Linked DNA regions of Homo sapiens: regions 1, 2, 4, 5 and 6 are each linked to region 3. Evidence: promoter capture Hi-C in 16 types of primary human blood cells and fetal thymus (Javierre and others, 2016). All regions are on one chromosome and are shown on one strand. The core of a region is centred on a gene start or on the middle of the fragment in contact, and the rest is flanking DNA. Distances in the headings are between cores, read along the strand shown.

Region 1 (2,700 bases), core at 37-2,536, 290 kb after region 3:
TTTTGAGACGGAGTTTCCCTCTTGTTGCCCAGGCTGGAATGCAATGGTGCAATCTCACTGCAACCTCTGCCTTCCAGATTGAAGCAATTCTCCTGCCTCAGCTTTCCCCAGTAGCTGGGATTACAGGCACCTGCTACCATGCCTGGCTAATTTTTGTATTTTTAGTAGAGACAGGGTTTCACCATGTTGGCCAGGCTGGTCTTGAACTCCTGACCTCAGGTGATCCACCCACCTTGGCCTCCCAAAGTGCTGGGATTACAAGCGTGAGCCACCATGCCCAGCCTCTAAAAGGCACTTTTTAAGGGACCTTGGAGTTTGTCCTCAAACAGCTCAACCCCACAGGCGAGGCTGGTCCTAGCACCCCTACCAGACAGCTAGTCAGTGAGAGGGGTCCAACCTCCCCCAGCTTTTCCCTGGAAGTGGGGCAGGGTCAGCAGGGAATTCTGGGGGTGAAGCTCATGGTCCAGGAGCCTTCTGGTGCCCAGAGGGTAGAGGAGTGGAAGGCCTGGGGGTGCTCAGCCCCACTGTATCCTGGACAGGCTGGGCCGGCTTGCAGGCTGGTCTCCATGGAGGCTCAGAAGGAAAGTGTGCAAGAGCAGGTTAGGAAGGGAAACCAAGTCAGGGAAGGGCCCCAGCCGGGGCTAGTGGTCTGTTCACTGCCCAGCGGGCACTCTCAGCAGCACCCCGCAGCACTCCGCTTCACATGGCATGGCTTGCAGAAGAGATGGTTGTTCAGGGGGTAGCAGCCTTGGTCCGTGGGCTCGACAGACAGGAGGATCCTGCAGTCCTGGGGAGACAAAGACACATGCTGACCCGCCCTGGGCCTGGGCGCTGCCTGCACAGGGGAGGGACTCACTTGGCATCTGCCGAATAAACCAACTGCATGAGTGGATGCCCTTCCTAAGTGGGAGGAAGGAGGCTGCTCACTGCTGCCCTCCCAACACCCGGGCCAGGTCTCCATAAGGGAAGATGAGACACAGACACACATGGAGGCTTTAATCCACGTGGAGGCGCCGGTGAGGACAGACATTCACCGTCAGGAGAACTAAGGACACCTGGGGAAGTCCCCTGAGGGTTCAGGGAAAGTTGGGGCTAGAAGAGTCTTAATAGCTCCTTTATTATTTTTTAAAATTTGTTTTTATCATTTATTTATTTTGAGACAGTCTTGCTCTGTCGCCCAGGCTGGAGTGCAGTGGCACGATCTTGGCTCACTGCAACCTCTGCTTCCCGGGTTCAAGCGATTCTCCTGCCTCCCAGGTAGCTGGGATTACAGGCGTGTGCCACCACACCCAGCTAATTTTTGTATTTTTAGTAGACAGGGTTTTGCCATGTTGGTCAGGCTGGTCTCGATCTCCTGACCTCAAGTGATCCGCCCACCTTGGCTTCCCATGCTGGGATTACAGGTGTGAGCCAGTGCGCCCGGCTTCAATAACCCCTTTAGAACATAAATTCTGGGCGGGCGCGGTGGTTCACGCCTATAATCCCAGCACTTTGGGAGGCTGAGGCGGGCGGATCACAGGGTCAGGAGATAGAGACCATCCTGGCTAACACGGTGAAACCCCATCTCTACTAAAAATACAAAAAACTAGCCGGGCGTGGTGGCGGGCGCCTGTACTCCCAGCTATGTGGGAGGCTGAGGCAGGAGGCAGGAGAATGGCGTGAACCCGGGAGGCAGAGCTTGCAGTGAGCCGAGATCGTGCCACTACACTCCAGCCCGGGTGACAGAGCGAGACTCCATCTCAAAAAAAAAAAAAAAAAAAAAAAAGAACGTAAGTTCTACGAGACAGGAACCCTGTTTAAGGCCAAGTCCCCATCCCAGCACAGGCCATGGGTATCTGCTGATGAGTGCCTGAATCTAGTCCAGTCCCTTCATTTCACAGGTGGGATACCAAGGTCCAGGGAGGAGTGGGCTCTGCCCCAGGTCACACAGCTGGTTCTGGAGCTGGGACCAGACTGGGTCTCCAGGATCTGGCTCCAGGGGCCTTTCTGTGACTCCACAGCCCACACAGCTTCAACACCAGCACAAACATTAATATTTTCTATTTTTCAAATCACCAAAGGATTTCAGAATGAGGAACACAGGGACTCGGGGCCCAAATTCTACCAACGTCACTGTTCTGCCCCAGAAACCTCACCTGGGCACATGCTAGAGAATAACAGGGGGGACAATTTGCGCGCAGAGACTTGGTTCTGGGCACCCTTTGGAAGCTGCACTGATCCCACAAAAGAGTCCTTATAGGGGGCCAGGCGCAGTGGCTCACGCCTGTAAGCCCAGCACTTTGGGAGGCTGAGGCGGGCGGATCATGAGGTCAGGAGTTTGCGACCAGCCTGGCCAACATGGTGAAACCCCGTCTCTACTAAAAATATAAAAATTAGCCGGGCGTGGTGGTGGGTGCCTGTAATCCCAGCTACTCATGAGGCTGAGACAGAATTGTTTGAACCCGGGAGGAGGTTGCTGAGATCGCGCCACTGCACTCCAGCCTGGGAGACAGGGCAAGACTCCGTCTCAAAAAAAAAAAAAAAAGAGTCCCTATAGGGACTACTTTGGGGTCACAGGTGGCCCTCCTTATGCAGTAGGGACCAGGGTCTGCAATCTGCCTTCCTCCATGGCCAGCTGGGTGAGGCACCCCTGTGTGTCTCCTCCCTACAAGGCCACTTGAGTCTCTCAAGTAGACCATGGGCTATACAACTGCACCATCT
Region 2 (2,700 bases), core at 61-2,560, 270 kb after region 3:
AAAAGCCGAGCTCCCCGAGTGAGCAATTCCTGTCCCTTTTAAGGGCTTACAACTCTAAGGCGGTCCGCGTGAGAGGGTCGTGATCGATTGAGTAAGCAGAGGGTACGTGACTGGGGGCTGCATGCACTGGTAATCAGAACGGAAAGGAAGAGGACAGGGATTTTCACGACGCTTTTCCATACAATGTCTGAAATCTATAGATAACAGAAGAGTTAGGTCGGGGTTGATTTTTAACTCCAGGCCCAGGGTGCAGTGCTGGGCTATCTGCCTGTGGATTCCATTTCTGCCTTTTAGTTTTTACTACTTCTTTCTTTGGATTCAGAAATTGGGCATAAGACAATATGAGGGGTGGTCTCCTCCCTTATCATGTGCTTACTGTAAAAAAATCAGAGTTGGGCACAGTGGCTCACACCTGTAATCCCAGCACTTTGGGAGGCTGAGGCGGGAGAATCACTTGAGCCCAGGAGTGCAAGACCAGCCTGAGCAACACAGTGAGTCCCTATCTCTACAGAAAAAAAAAGAAAAATCAAAAGTTATCCAGGCAAGATGGTGTGCGCCTATGGTCCAGCCTACTCAAGAGGCTGAGGCTGGAGGATGGCTTGAGCCCAGAAGGTCAAGGCTGCAGTGAGCCATGATCGCACCATTGCACTCCAGCCTGTGTGACAGAACGAGACCCTGTCTCAAAAAAAAGAAAGCTTTAAAAGGGTGAATTTTGTATGTGTGATTCATATCTCAGTAAAGCTGTTATTAAAAAAAATAAATAAATAAAAGCAGGCCGCCGGGCATAGTGGCTCACACCTGTAATCCCAGCACTTTGGGAGGCTGAGGTGGGCAGATTACCTGAGGTCAGGAGTTTGAGACCAACCTGGCCAACATGATGAAGCCCCGTATTTACTAAAAATACAAAAATTAGTGGGAATAGTGGTGGGTGCCTGTAATCACAGCTACTCAGGAGGCTGAGGCAGGAGAATCGCTTGAACCTGGGAGGCAGAAGTTGCAGTGGGCCAAGATTGCCCCACTGCACTCCAGCCTGGGCAATAGAGTGAGACTCCATCTCAGAAAAAAAAAAAAAAAAGCTAGAGAGAAGAAAGTAAAATATCCTTTGAGTCACCCAACCCCAGACTGCAAGTAGCCACTCATTCATTCCACAAATACTCTCTGAGGGCCTGTTCTATGCAGGCTATGTGCCAAGGGTTTACACCCTAGGAGCAGTGCCACCCCAGTATCTGTCCCCCGTGACCAGTGACTGCCCCTCCTCTATAATATCTATTGACTGACCTCTCTGACCTCACCTCATTTCTTTCCTCCAGTGCCCCGGCTCCAGCAGTCCATGGATCCTGCCCCCTTTGCATGTCCCTCAGCCTGCCTGCCCTCCGTGTCCTTCCTGCCCAGCCTACAATTCATGGTCAGGCCCCACCCCCACCCCCTCCTGCGGTCCTGACAAAACCCCAACACTGGTCAGTCCCACTGCTCCACCTCCACCGCATCTCACCTGCACTTGCGCAGCTCAATGTCACACCACCTTGCCAGCTGCTTCCCTTTCAACTCATGACACAAAACCCAAGAGGGCCCTTAGTGGATGTCAGGATCAGTCACTGTCCCCATGACCCTTGCACCCCTCTTTTCTCCTCTCTATAAAATAAGGGTGATAATATTTCTGTCTCCCGGGGCTGTTGGCAGCATCAGTAGTAGGTCCTTGCTCGGGGGCAGCTACTGGGGTTAGTTCCTCTGGTGCTCAGTCCAAGAGTTCCCTGGTGTCTTGGTGTCCGCGGAGTCCCACCCTGCGGTCATTTATTTTGTTCCGCTGGTTGGGCAGGCCTGGGCTCTCTGCCAGATCTGATCATCCTCCCAGAGACAGGAGGGAACGGAATGTGGCACCAGGCAGTAAGACGCATGGCTGAGCTCAGCAGGAGAGGGAAGCTTCCAACTTCCTGCAGCGAATGTCCTAGGTGATAGGTCAAGTCTGACCCCGCCAGTGAGGCCAACATGGAAACTTACTAGGGCCTCGAAAAGGTGTGTGTGGGAGTTCAGAGAGGAGTGGAGACAGCCGGCCTCCCAATCTGGACCCACAGGGCAGGGCAGGGAGAGGAGATGGCCCCGCCTCCAGGAATCCAGGCTGCACCTCCCTCCAGGGAACTCAGATCAAAGCCAGGAGGAAGGAGGAGTGTGAACTTTGCACCCAGTGACTCACTGCATCCCCCTAGGGCAAGTGCTCTCACCCGTGCAGAATCCTGCCCTCCTTGCCACTGACGGGACCATCCGCACTGGGTCAGCCTATGAGCAACACTGACCTGATTCACCTGCACGCCTTCATTCCCCCACCTTCATCCTCCTCCTCGCAGAGGTGATCAGATGTTTGCAGGTGCCTGCCTGTGTTTACAAGTAGGTCTTGGAAGATAAGAGAGGCGGTGGGAGGGGTGGGAAAGCCCTGTTCTGGCAGTCAGGACACCCAGGGCTTGGCCACTAACCAGCTGTGTGAGCTCGGCCGGTCTCACACCCTCTCTGGGCCCGGCCACCACCTCTGTGGTTATGGGCAGTTGGACTCTATGGCAAGTTCATCTGCCCTACCGGCTTGGGGTTCTACCGGCTTGGGGTTCTACTGGCTTGGGGTTCTTCCTTCTCACCGTTGCCCCCCTGGGAAAAAGCCCCAATCCTGGCACAGAGTCTAGGAAGCCTTGCTGCTTTGGTTCCTGCCTGAGT
Region 3 (2,700 bases), core at 9-2,508:
CATGAACTACTGTGCCAAGCCCACACCCAGCTAATTTTTTATATTTTTGGTAGAGACGGAGTTTCACCATATTGGCCAGGCTGGTCTCGAACTCCTGACCTCAAGTGATCTGCCTGCCTTGGCCTCCCAAAGTGCTGGGATTACAGGCGTGGGCCACCGCGCCTGGCCCCTCCTTATTCATTCTTCAAAACATTTCTCTGCTGCCACCAGTGAACCTGGCTGCCTCAACTGGAAAACAGACACAAGAGTGCCTGCCCTGCCTGATGCACAGGTGGGCATGAAGGAGAGAGCGAGATGCTATGTGTGAGTGAGGGTCTCAGACACTGACATTGAGTGCTGTGTGCATGGGAAATTTTGCTAAAGGATCTTCACACCTCAGGAGCTGGGATGTGTGTGTGTGTGTGTGTGTGTAAATGCAAGCGTGCTTCAATGTGAGTGTATAACTGTCATTGTGTGGGTGTGAGTGGGTATGTACACATGGGAGACTGTGTATTCATGTGTAGGTATGTGAGTGTGTGTGCGTGTATGTAAATGCAAGTGTGCATATATATGTGTGTGTATGACCATCAGTGTGTGAATGAGGGGTATGTACACATGGGAGAGTGTGTGTGTAGGTACGTGCGAGTAAGTGTGAATGACTACAGAGGCCGTCCAGGGCTGGGGAAAAAAACCTGTGCCTCAGTTTACTCTGCCCTAGACAAGCCCTGAGAGGCAGCCTTGCCCCCCTCTTCAACCATCGCTGGAGACCCTTCATCCCGCCGCCAGGCCACCAGCGCACTATCTACCCGCACTCTCTCTACCCCACCTCTGGGCATATATTATTTTGCATATGTTAATTTCAATAGCTCTGAATGAGGCGCTGACAGTCAAAAGTCGCTGAACTCACAGCTTAGGGCTCTCAGGCAAGGCCTCTAACTTCTGCGAGCCTCACTTTCATCCTCTAAAAATAGGCCCAATGGAACTGTTGTTCTTGCGCGCACCCCTCCTCGCTCCCAAGCCTTCGTGCCCAGTCGTCGTTGGTGTGGTTAAATTCATGTTGTTTACTTTGTGCCCCAAATGCCAGGAGTCTCCCCGCCCCCTCTGTCCCCTTCCCTGACCTTCAGCCCGGGCAACCCCAGGAGGTGGGGGAGCCCCGAAGGGACAGAGATGGCCCTCCCGCGCGCTGCGGCCACAGGTGTGCCCGAGCCTCCCGGCTGCGCTCCCCCGGGCCCCGCCCGCCGCGCCCCGCGGTGTCGCCCTCCCCTGGCAGCGGCGGGCACTGCGCGGGAGGCGGCGGCGCGAGGCGAGCCGGGCGCGGCGGCAGCAGGGACGACCCAGGCTGGAGCTGAGGCCGAGCTGAGGGCGCCCGAGCCCCCCGCCCCGCCCGTCCTCTGGCTCCGCAGCGCTCAGCCCCGGGCCCGCGGAGACATGAACGCCCCGCGGCCCCACGCACCCCGGGCGCAGCGGCCCGGCCCCGCGGCCCCGTGATGGGCTCCTGCGTGTCGCGAGGTGAGGGGGCCCGGCCGGGGGCGGGGGGATCGGGTGCCGGGGACCCGCGCAGTCCCCTCGCCGCTCGGAGACCTGGGGGATGGGGCTGGCGACCCGCCCTTCACGGCCCCGCCGCACCCCTGGGGACGCGGCGTCCTGAGGGGGACAGAGCTAGGGACGGTAGGGGGCGGGGGCAGCGCAGAGAGCGCACGTGCAGAGGTCACCGCATCCCCGCCCCAGTTTGCAGCCCCGCAGGTGACACGAAGCAGGGTCCCGTGCCGTGCCGCGCTCTCATCCCTACAGCCACACACCCCCTGCCGGGTGCCTGGGAACCAGCTCTGGTTCTTCCTGGCTTCCCGGAGGAACTGCGGGCACCGGGAGAACTAGCAGACCCTCCCTTTCCCACCCCTCCCCAAGACACAGGTCTTACCAGCTCACCCCCACAGCCCCTTCCCACGTCTTACCGGGTGCCCCCATCTGCAGAGCCCCTGAACCCTGTTGGCAGGAAAGGGTTAATGGTGGGGCACAGGTTATAAAGAAGGTTCCCCTGCCCCCTAATCCTCCTCCCCACCCCCATCCTTGGACAGGGGACAGAAGGGCCAGAGCACAGCTGATGTTCCCAGTTACCCCTGGGCCTTTCTCTCTGTGTCTGACCTGTCACCCTCCACTCTCCCCCACGTGGTACCCAAGGAGGTGGAGGGGACCTGCCCTTGCCTGGGGGCCCAGGGCAGGCCCCAGCCTCTTCTATCTGTGAGGAGGGGACACACAGTCTTGCACAGAGATTGGGGGATGGGCAGTTTGGTCTTTGGAGCCCCCTACCTCCACCCCCACCCATCACCACCAGCTTTCCAACAGGCTGTTGGGCAACATTTTAGACAAGCGATTGGGCTGAGCCCTTCTCCCACCTTGGTCTGTTCACCCCACAGTGGGATCAGGGGGGTGTGACTGGGAGTGGGGGTGGCTTTGGCCTTGGTTCAGGCTCTGCAGGCTGAGGCCAAACCCACTGACCACCACCACACCCATCACCCCTAGTAGCTTACCCAGAATAGAGGGGACCTTGTCCTGGGGGTATTGAGCAAGGAGCACAATGACCTTCCCCCATCCTCTGGACTCGAAGGGCTTCTGCTCAGGAGTTCCTGTGGGCATTCAGGTAAGTGGCTCAGGATGTCTCTGGGAGGTATCGGGGTGGAATCCCGGCTGGGGAAGGGGAAGGTACAGGGTCAGGCTGTGTGG
Region 4 (2,700 bases), core at 86-2,585, 280 kb before region 3:
TTCTTTCTTTCTTTCTTTCTTTCTTTTTTTTTTTTTTTTTGCAGTTTCTCACTCTGTCATCCAGGCTGGAGTGCAGTAGCACAGTCTCGGCTCTCTGCAATCTCCATCCCCTGGGTTTAAGCGATTCTCCTGCCTCAGCTTCCTGAGTAGCTGGGATTACAGGTGTGCGCCACCACGCCCGCTAATTTTTTTTTTTTTTTTTTTTTTTTTGTAATTTTAGTAGAGACGGGGTTTCACCGATGTTGCCCAGGCTGATCTCAAACTCCTGGTCTCAAGCGATACCCTGCCCCACCCCAGGCTTGAGCCACCGTGCCCAGCCTCCTTTTCTATTTTTAAATCAAAGACTTTTCCATAGAAATTTGTCGATTTTCTTAGTGTCTTTGCTAAAGATGTAAATCTGAACCAGCAGCTTCTCTGTGGTAGAAAATTGGAGAGCTACTTTGCATATCAATTTGCTAATAAAGAGTCATGAAATTAATGCAGTAAAACATCCTGGTGGCTCATCATTATGCTTCTTGGCATAATATGTTGCACTGTTATGCTAAATCATCATCAGGTATTGATGCAACTTCATGACATCCATGACATCATTTGCTCTCCAGATTTTGACCTTTGCAATTCCTTACCTTAGTTACAAAAAGAACAGGATCAGAAAAAAAATAGCTTAGGATGCTTCTTCTTGTCTGATTTCTAGAGGGGTCTTTAATAACAGCTTTATGTGGTTTAAACCCTGAGTAAGATTCAGAGCAGGGTGAGTCCTACCTATTATGGAGAGCAAGCAAAGAAAATGCTAACAAAACGTCTGAGTTTTATGAGAACACTGAGGTCCCAGGGAGAAGCTATCTCAAAGATGAACAAATACGTAATTATCTTTGTGATTTCAGAATTGTTTTAGTCAATGAATTAACTCTTTTTGTTTGTTTTTTGAGACATAGTTTTGCTCTTGTTTCCCAGGCTGGAGTGCAATGATCTCGGCTCACTGCAACCTCCACCTCTCCGGTTCAGGCGATTCTCCTGCCTCAGCTTCCTGAGTAACTGGGATTGCAGGTGCCTGCCATCATGCCCAGCTAATTTTTTGTATTTTTAGTAGAGACAAGGTTTCACTATGTTGGCCAGGCTGGTCTTGAACTCCTGACCGCAGGCGATCCACCTGCCTTGGCCTCCCAAAGTGCTGGGATTACAGGCTTGAGCCACTGCGCCCGGCCCTGAATTAACTCTTTATAAAACCAGAAGCCATTTGATTAAATAAAGCCCTTCCCACGATTGTTAATGTGGATCAGAAAAGATAGTGTTCGTGAAAGTGCTTTGTAAAATGTAAAATAAAAGGTAAATGTAAAATTGATTATTCCTATTTATGAACCACCTACTGAGGGCCCTCCATATGGCGGGTGTTTTGGGAAGTAGGTACTAATTTAAGACAGCTTTTGGTCTGAAGTTGCATATAGTATGGCTGGGGAGCCAGACAAGGAAACCCGTTAAGTGCTATGTAGTGTTAAGAAGTGCACTGAATCCAACCAAGAGAGTCAAGGAAGGCTTCTTGGAGCAGGGATGGCTTTTCCCCAACCTTTCCTATTATTCTGCAGAGTCTGCCTTTAGTGAGTGACTTGCTTTTTATAAAAACTTGAAAAAAAATTCTGTCATGGGTTCTTTTCCCCTTTTATTCATTCACTGTCATGACAGTTCCCACACAGTATGCCCCAGTTATGGCTTCTGCATTCTCAAAAATCCAGCAGTCTTGGGAAAACCTTTCTATATGAGTCATATACACAGGCAACAAACACAAACATTGCAGCTGCAATTAAAATATCTCAGATTACTAAGTGGTGACAACTTTAGAGTGATGATGCTTTTTTGTTTTTGTTTTGTAAACTAGTACAAGAGGCACTGTGTTTTTAATTTGATGACAATTAATACAGTAAATATTTAATTGTTATTCCTTACAATGTTGATTATAGGTGGTTATTAGTACTGTCTCCTTTTTCCCAACAATAAATAAAATGAGAAGATCTTAATTCCTTTTTGATTGAAGCTGACCGCTTAAGTGAGAATTACACTAAACTTTCTTTTTCTTTTTTATTTTTTTGAGACCAAGTCTTGCTCTATCGCCTAGGCTGGAGTGCAGTGGCGCAATCTCTGCTCACTGTAACCTCTACCTCCCGGGTTCCAGCGATTCTCCTGCCTCAGCCTCCCGAGTAGCTGGGAGTACAGGCACCCGCCCCACGCCCGGCTAATTTTTGTAGTTTTTTTTTAGTAGAGGTGGGATTTCACCATATTGGCCAGGCTGGTCTCGAACTCCTGACCATGTGATCCGCCCACCTTTGCCTCCCAAAGTGCTGGGATTACAGGCTTCAGCCACCGCTCCCGACGAATTACACTAAACTTTTATAGAATCTATGTGGATTGGTGTTGCTAGTAGCTTTGATATTGAACTTCTGTATCCCAGTACAAGTTATTTACCTTAGTGCTGTAGTTGTTGTACAATTAATTTAGCGTGTTGTTGCCTATATTGCAAAAACTTCGAATTTTTGGATTGAGTGAAATTTTTATGTGGCACTGTATTATTGAACATATACCATCTGTATCTTAACTGAAAATGAGTGATCTAAAGTTGCGGCTGATGGAAAAGTGAAGGTGATGTGTTCAGTTTTCTATAATGTGACAGCTTGCTACATGTACAAGGATATGACTTACAGACAAGTC
Region 5 (2,700 bases), core at 134-2,633, 360 kb before region 3:
GGGCTACTATGAGCATTGGTGTTCAAACACTTGTTCTAGTCCTGTTTTCCATTTTCTTGAGTGTATACATAGGAGTGAAACTGCTGAGTTATACAATAATGCTATGTTTAGTGGTTTTGTTTTGTTTTGTTTTGTTTGAAACAGCATCTCACTCTGTTGCCCAGGCTGGAAAGCACTGGCATGATCATGGCTCACTGCAGCCTCAACCTCCCAGGCTCAAGTGATCCTCCCAACTCAGCCTCCCAAGTAGCTGGGACTACAGGTGTGAACCACCATGTCCGGCCTTGCTCACCTTTTTGAGGAGCCTCCAAACTGTCTTCCACAGCAGCAGCACCATTTACGTTCACAAGGGTTTCAATTTCTTCACATTTTTGCAAATATTGGTTATTTTTCTTTTCTTTTCTTTTCTTTTTCTTTTCTTTTTTTTTTTTTTTTTAGACAGGGTCTCTCTCTTTCTTTCTCTCTCTGTCACCCCACACTGGAGTGCAATGGTGCGATCATCACTCACTGCAGCCTCAAATTCCCGGGCTCAAGGGATCCTCCTGCCTCAACCTTTTGAGTAGCTGGGCCTACAGGCACACACCACCCTACCCTGCTATTTTTCTTACTTTTTGTAGAGACGGGGGTCTTGCTATGTTGCCCAGGCTGGTCTTGAATTCCTGTCTTCAAGAGATCCTCCTGCCTCAGCCTTCCAAAGTGCTAGGATTATAGGCATGAGCCACCATACCTGGCCTTATTTTCCAATTTTTTTTTTTTTGAGACTAAGTCTCACTCTACCACCCAGGCTGGAAGACAGTGGCATGATCTCAGCTCACTGCAACTTCTGCCTCCCAGGTTCAAGTGATTCTCGTGCCTCAGCCTCCTAAGTAGCTGGGATTACAGGCATGCGCCACCATGCCTGGCTAATTTTTGTATTTTTAGTAGAGACGGGGTTTCACCATGTTGGCCAGGCTGGTCTATAACTCGACCTCAAGTGATCCACCCACCTCGGCCTCCCAAAGTGCTGGGATTACAGGTGTGAGCCACCGCACCCAGCCATTCAGAGCACTTTCAGTTCTGTTCAGTCTAACAAAGACAGGCATCGAGCACATACCCTATGCCAGGTGCTGAGTACTGGGGTCACTGGGATGTGGCCAATCCAGCTCCTACCATCCTGGAGCTCGCAGACTGGAGGAGACAGAGAGAAAAGCAGTCATTGGCAAAGCAGAATGAAAGGTACTGTAATGAAGCAAATTCACAGGGGCCTGTGGGAGCAAAGAGAAGAAACCCCACACAGTCTGGGGAGAGTCAGGGAAGGCTTTCTGGGAGAGAGTACCCTGGCCCAATAATCACTGTGAGGTTGGCAAGGCAACGATTGTTATCTTCATTGTGTAATGGGGGCCACTGAACCAGTGACAAGCTGGGGGAAATGACACTGTCCAGTAGTTGGAGGTCACACAGCCCCTTGCCTTATTCTCAAACCCTAACCACATGGCTGGATATTCCTGAAATGCATTCCTAAACCTCTGCTGCTGAGAATAATTGGACCTGCCATCTATTCCCAGTTTAACTGCCCTGTATACCAAACAAATCCAATTCAAGCCAACAGGCAAAGTATAGGCTCAGACAGAGCCCATCCTATGTGCAAGGCGGTGAGCAGGGGTGGAAAATCTCACTGTGACTCATCCAGCTGATTTCTGGTAGGTGCAGGGCCAAGGTGGGGTGTAAGGTGAACAAGCTTTCCCTGACGGCCTCCAGACATATATATGATATGCCACTTATCTTTATCTGCTGTATTTTCCTGCCATCATAGATATTTCCAAGAGAAATTCTCCCATTTTTCAGATGAGGAAACCACTTATAAAAGGGGCACTCAATACCCAAAGAATTTTGAAAAAGAACAAAGTTGGAGGACTCACACTTCCTGATTTCAAAACTTTTTATTTATTTATTTATTTATTTGTTTTTCCATAGGTTATTGGGGTACAGGTGGTATTTGGCTACATGACTAAGGTTTTTGTTTTTTGGTGTTTTTTTTTTGTTTACATTAGTAATTTTTTTTGAGACGGAGTCTTGCTCTGTTGCCCAGGCTGGCGTGTAGTGGTGCAGTCTCTGCTCACTGCAACCTCCATCTCCCAGGTTCAAGCGATTCTCCTGCCTCAGCCTCCCAAGTACCTAGGATTACAGGCAGGCACCACCATGCCCAGCTAATTTTTGTATTTTTAGTAGAAACAGGATTTCACCATGTTAGCCAGGGTGATCTCAAACTCCTGACCTCGAGTGATCTGCCCCCCTTGGCATCCCAAAGTTCTGGGATTACAGGCGTGAGCCACCTTGCCCTGCATGAGTAGGTTCTTTAGTGGTGATTTGTAAGATTTTGGTCCACCCATCACCTGAGCAGTATACACTGCACCCTATCTGTATTTTTTTTTTTTTTTTTTGAGACAGAGTCTCACCCTGTCATCTAGGCTGGAGTGCAATGGTGCGATCTCGGCTCACTGCAACCCTCCACCTGCCAGGTTCAAGCAATTCTCCTGCCTCAGCCTCCTGACTAGCTGGGATTACAGGCATGTGCCACCATGCCCGGCTAATTCTGTACTTTTAGTAGAGACGGGGTTTCTCCATGTTGGTCAGGCTGGTCTCAAACTCCCAACCTCAGGTGATCTGCCCGCCTCGGCCTCCCAAAGTGCTGGGATTACAGGCACGCACCACCACACTCAG
Region 6 (2,700 bases), core at 87-2,586, 310 kb before region 3:
AGGCACCATCAAATCTCTGGAGGGGCCAGAAAGGCACTAAAATGGAAACCTCTCGCTCCAGCTTGGAACACAGTTGGTGCCAAAGAATGCTGAATGACTGAATGGAAAAGGTACACCAATAATAAGAGAACGACCTGGATGTTTTCTGTGAACTGACAAACACAGACACTCACACAGAATCTATGTCCACTACGTACTCTGTCCTGAAAATGACTGTATTGATGGAATTGTATTAATTCTATTAATACCAGTGTTATTACCTGAGTAAGTACTACAGCTCATATTAGTCTATTGCCTATTACCTTTTAAGGGCTTCTCACAAGTAACTTCTTGTTTTAAAGTTTCATACTGTATCATTTCGCTCCACTCTAAATACAAGACTGCCTATTCGAGTTTCTCCATCATAAACAGAGCCTTGACAGCTGTAGAATTTAGAAGCCTTTGAGGGTTGAGACCAAATGCCTTCATAGACCAGGCAAGCAGCCAAACTCCACTCGCACGGAGCATACCTGGGGAAGTGAAGGGGCTGCAGGGCACCAAAGAGCACTTGCCCTGCCTAATGACGGCCAACAAGCTTTGGCAGACAGGGCCAGATCTAGCGCAGAAGAAACCAAATCAGTATTTTTATGGCAATGCACTGAATTTTCCAACTTCACTATGTGAACTTTCACTTTCATATCGCTGCGAGAGCCAAATAAGACAGAGAGAGAAATGGGCCTCACACATTAGAGTGAATTTGAGAAGTCCCATCCAGGTCTCCTCTGAGGAAAGCAAACTGCTTCCTTCTTCCTCTAGGGTTTAAGGAAGATGGACCATCTGCCCAGTTCCAGCACAAGGAGCCTGGGTGGAAGAAAAGCGCTTCAAGAGGACATCGTAGGCCATGTCTGAGTAAATGCGCCTCTGTCCCCAAACTAGAACATGATTAACATACTTGGCATGTAATATAATACTAATAGCTTTTAAAATAATACCTTATATCGATATAATGTATTATGGCTGTCAACATTCTTCCCCAGACATTCATTTTCTGCTCACACCAGCCCTGTTTGGCAGACAAAGTAGCTTTTATCCTTCTGTCAGATGAGGGTTAGGGAACTTACCCAAGGTCACAAGGTAGTAAACCACAGAGACAGCCCTAGAATTCGCCTTTTGAGGCCCCTATGCTGACATACCACCCTCCCCCGACAATTGCTCAAATCCCCTGGAAATGCCAGTATAAACCATTAGATATTGGTCATCTCCCCCAATTCCACACTGCTCCCTGGCATGCCAAGAACTACAACTCTCATCCAACTCCACTGTGAAAGGCAGAAGAGCTTTATCAGAGCTGGAGAGGGATTCTTCCATAAGATTACAGAATGGGATGGAAACCCAAGCAGCTTTGGTGGAAAGTGGATCCTGGTCATCTTTAGATGGCCAGCTGGACGCCAGCATGCTCAGAGGCGCCCAAGCAGGAGAAGGAATGCTCTGCCAGCAGCTGGAGAGGGCATCGCATCTCCCTCTGGAGTCTGTCCAGGTATCATGAGTCAGTCTATTCTCTTCTCAGACAAGGCCTTGCAATCAATCTGCTCTCAGACTCATGCTCTGAAAAGCTGGACCAAGTCAAAACTTTCCTACAGGGTGTATTACAAGGAAAATGTGCATCTCCCCCAGAGATGCAATAGCCCAATGGAATTAAACAGGCCTCAGAACTTGTGTGGGGAAGCATCTAGATGCAGGCCTGAAATAAGGAATCGTACTACCTAAGGGAACCCTCTCTTTAGACAAGGATGCAGAGTCCTGCCCAAGGTCTAGGCTCCTGTGTTAGAGGCCTGACCTCCATCGCTAGTCAAAGAAAACCATCGCTGTGACTGCTGTGAGTGGGCACAAGGCAAGTGCTAGGGCACAAGCATACCACACAGGGCGGTGGCCAGGAAAGTGATCTCCTATGGCTCCTGCTCCTGGAAAGGCTCTTCAGCCAAGTAGCACCAAGCAGCCCACAGAAGGTGACATTCTGTGTTCCGGGTCCAAATCCTAAGCAAAAGATCTACTGTTGCCAAACCTTGACATCACTTGTCCTATGAGGCTACACATCTACAGAAATGGGACACAAGCTTCTCGGTCTCAGAGAACAAGCAAAGCCAGAAGGAAAGAGCGGAGGCAGGAAATCATGAAGAAGCACAGTGGGGAGGAAGGTGGTTCTCGACAGGGCTGGTCCTTTATGGGAGGTAAAGGAGAGCCACAACCACAAGGTGAATGGGATCAGATGTCAACATTTGCAATTTTAACTCACCAGAGGAGGAAGCTCAGCTTCACTGGCTGCTGATGCCCTTAACCTTGCTATAAATGTGCCTCTGGCTGAAAAGTTAGGGTATGGGACCTAGGAGTACAATGCGGATAAGATCATTCCCAAGGAGGAGAGCAGGGAAGGGGTCACCTCAAACAACCCAGTTTGTTACTGTCACAAGCTACAAAAGGAACAAAGGTGACAAAAGATAGGGATGTGTCTGTAAGGTGAAGCAGATTACAGTGGTAGGTTTACTCCTGTAACGTTAAGAGGTCGATGACAAGGAAAAAAGAAAGGTGAGAAAGGCAGAGGAGAGGAAGAAATAGGCTATTCTGGGTCTTAGTGTAAAGCACAGCAAGTATAAGCACCATTACAGTTGTACCTTCTCAGGTACGAATGTTTACACAACAGCCTGGGGTGATGATGCCCTGGGG

Evidence for each region. The method cuts DNA at HindIII sites, captures the fragments that hold promoters and counts their contacts. A CHiCAGO score of 5 or more calls a contact.
Region 1: a contact is called between a fragment that was not itself captured here and the fragment with the promoter of FAM131C in region 3, in 1 of 17 cell types (activated CD4 T cells). The highest score is 8.9, in activated CD4 T cells.
Region 2: a contact is called between a fragment that was not itself captured here and the fragment with the promoter of FAM131C in region 3, in 1 of 17 cell types (activated CD4 T cells). The highest score is 7.9, in activated CD4 T cells.
Region 4: a contact is called between a fragment that was not itself captured here and the fragment with the promoter of FAM131C in region 3, in 3 of 17 cell types (endothelial precursors, naive CD4 T cells and fetal thymus). The highest score is 6.3, in endothelial precursors.
Region 5: a contact is called between the fragment with the promoter of SPATA21 here and the fragment with the promoter of FAM131C in region 3, in 2 of 17 cell types (erythroblasts and endothelial precursors). The highest score is 5.5, in erythroblasts.
Region 6: a fragment that was not itself captured here is called in contact with the fragment with the promoter of FAM131C in region 3 in 1 of 17 cell types (endothelial precursors); the score reaches 7.1 in endothelial precursors.

The regions. Positions count from the first base shown.
Region 1 is chr1:15,782,635-15,785,334 of GRCh38, reverse strand. It overlaps FBLIM1 (filamin binding LIM protein 1), which reads right to left. Exons shown (of 9, transcript NM_017556.4): 9 at 1-787. The coding sequence ends at 674. Among named protein-coding and RNA genes, the nearest start is that of UQCRHL, 24 kb to the left of the region's middle. The HindIII fragment of the contact is 6,840 bases long and covers 1-2,700 here.
Region 2 is chr1:15,799,787-15,802,486 of GRCh38, reverse strand. No RefSeq gene overlaps it. Among named protein-coding and RNA genes, the nearest start is that of UQCRHL, 6.5 kb to the left of the region's middle. RefSeq lists an enhancer at 1,959-2,253. The HindIII fragment of the contact is 1,225 bases long and covers 698-1,922 here.
Region 3 is chr1:16,072,209-16,074,908 of GRCh38, reverse strand. It overlaps FAM131C (family with sequence similarity 131 member C), which reads left to right and starts at 1,258. Exons shown (of 7, transcript NM_182623.3): 1 at 1,258-1,488. The coding sequence starts at 1,467. RefSeq lists an enhancer at 496-995 and a silencer at 1,204-1,363. The HindIII fragment of the contact is 12,659 bases long and covers 1-2,700 here.
Region 4 is chr1:16,348,084-16,350,783 of GRCh38, reverse strand. The region is part of intron 1 of FBXO42 (F-box protein 42); the gene reads left to right. Among named protein-coding and RNA genes, the nearest start is that of FBXO42, 3.0 kb to the left of the region's middle. The HindIII fragment of the contact is 2,783 bases long and covers 1-2,700 here.
Region 5 is chr1:16,436,107-16,438,806 of GRCh38, reverse strand. It overlaps SPATA21 (spermatogenesis associated 21), which reads left to right and starts at 1,383. Exons shown (of 13, transcript NM_198546.1): 1 at 1,383-1,679. RefSeq lists a silencer at 483-653. The HindIII fragment of the contact is 2,188 bases long and covers 1-1,719 here.
Region 6 is chr1:16,385,397-16,388,096 of GRCh38, reverse strand. The region is part of intron 1 of SZRD1 (SUZ RNA binding domain containing 1); the gene reads right to left. Among named protein-coding and RNA genes, the nearest start is that of SZRD1, 20 kb to the right of the region's middle. RefSeq lists enhancers at 1,515-2,015, 2,016-2,516. The HindIII fragment of the contact is 1,519 bases long and covers 577-2,095 here.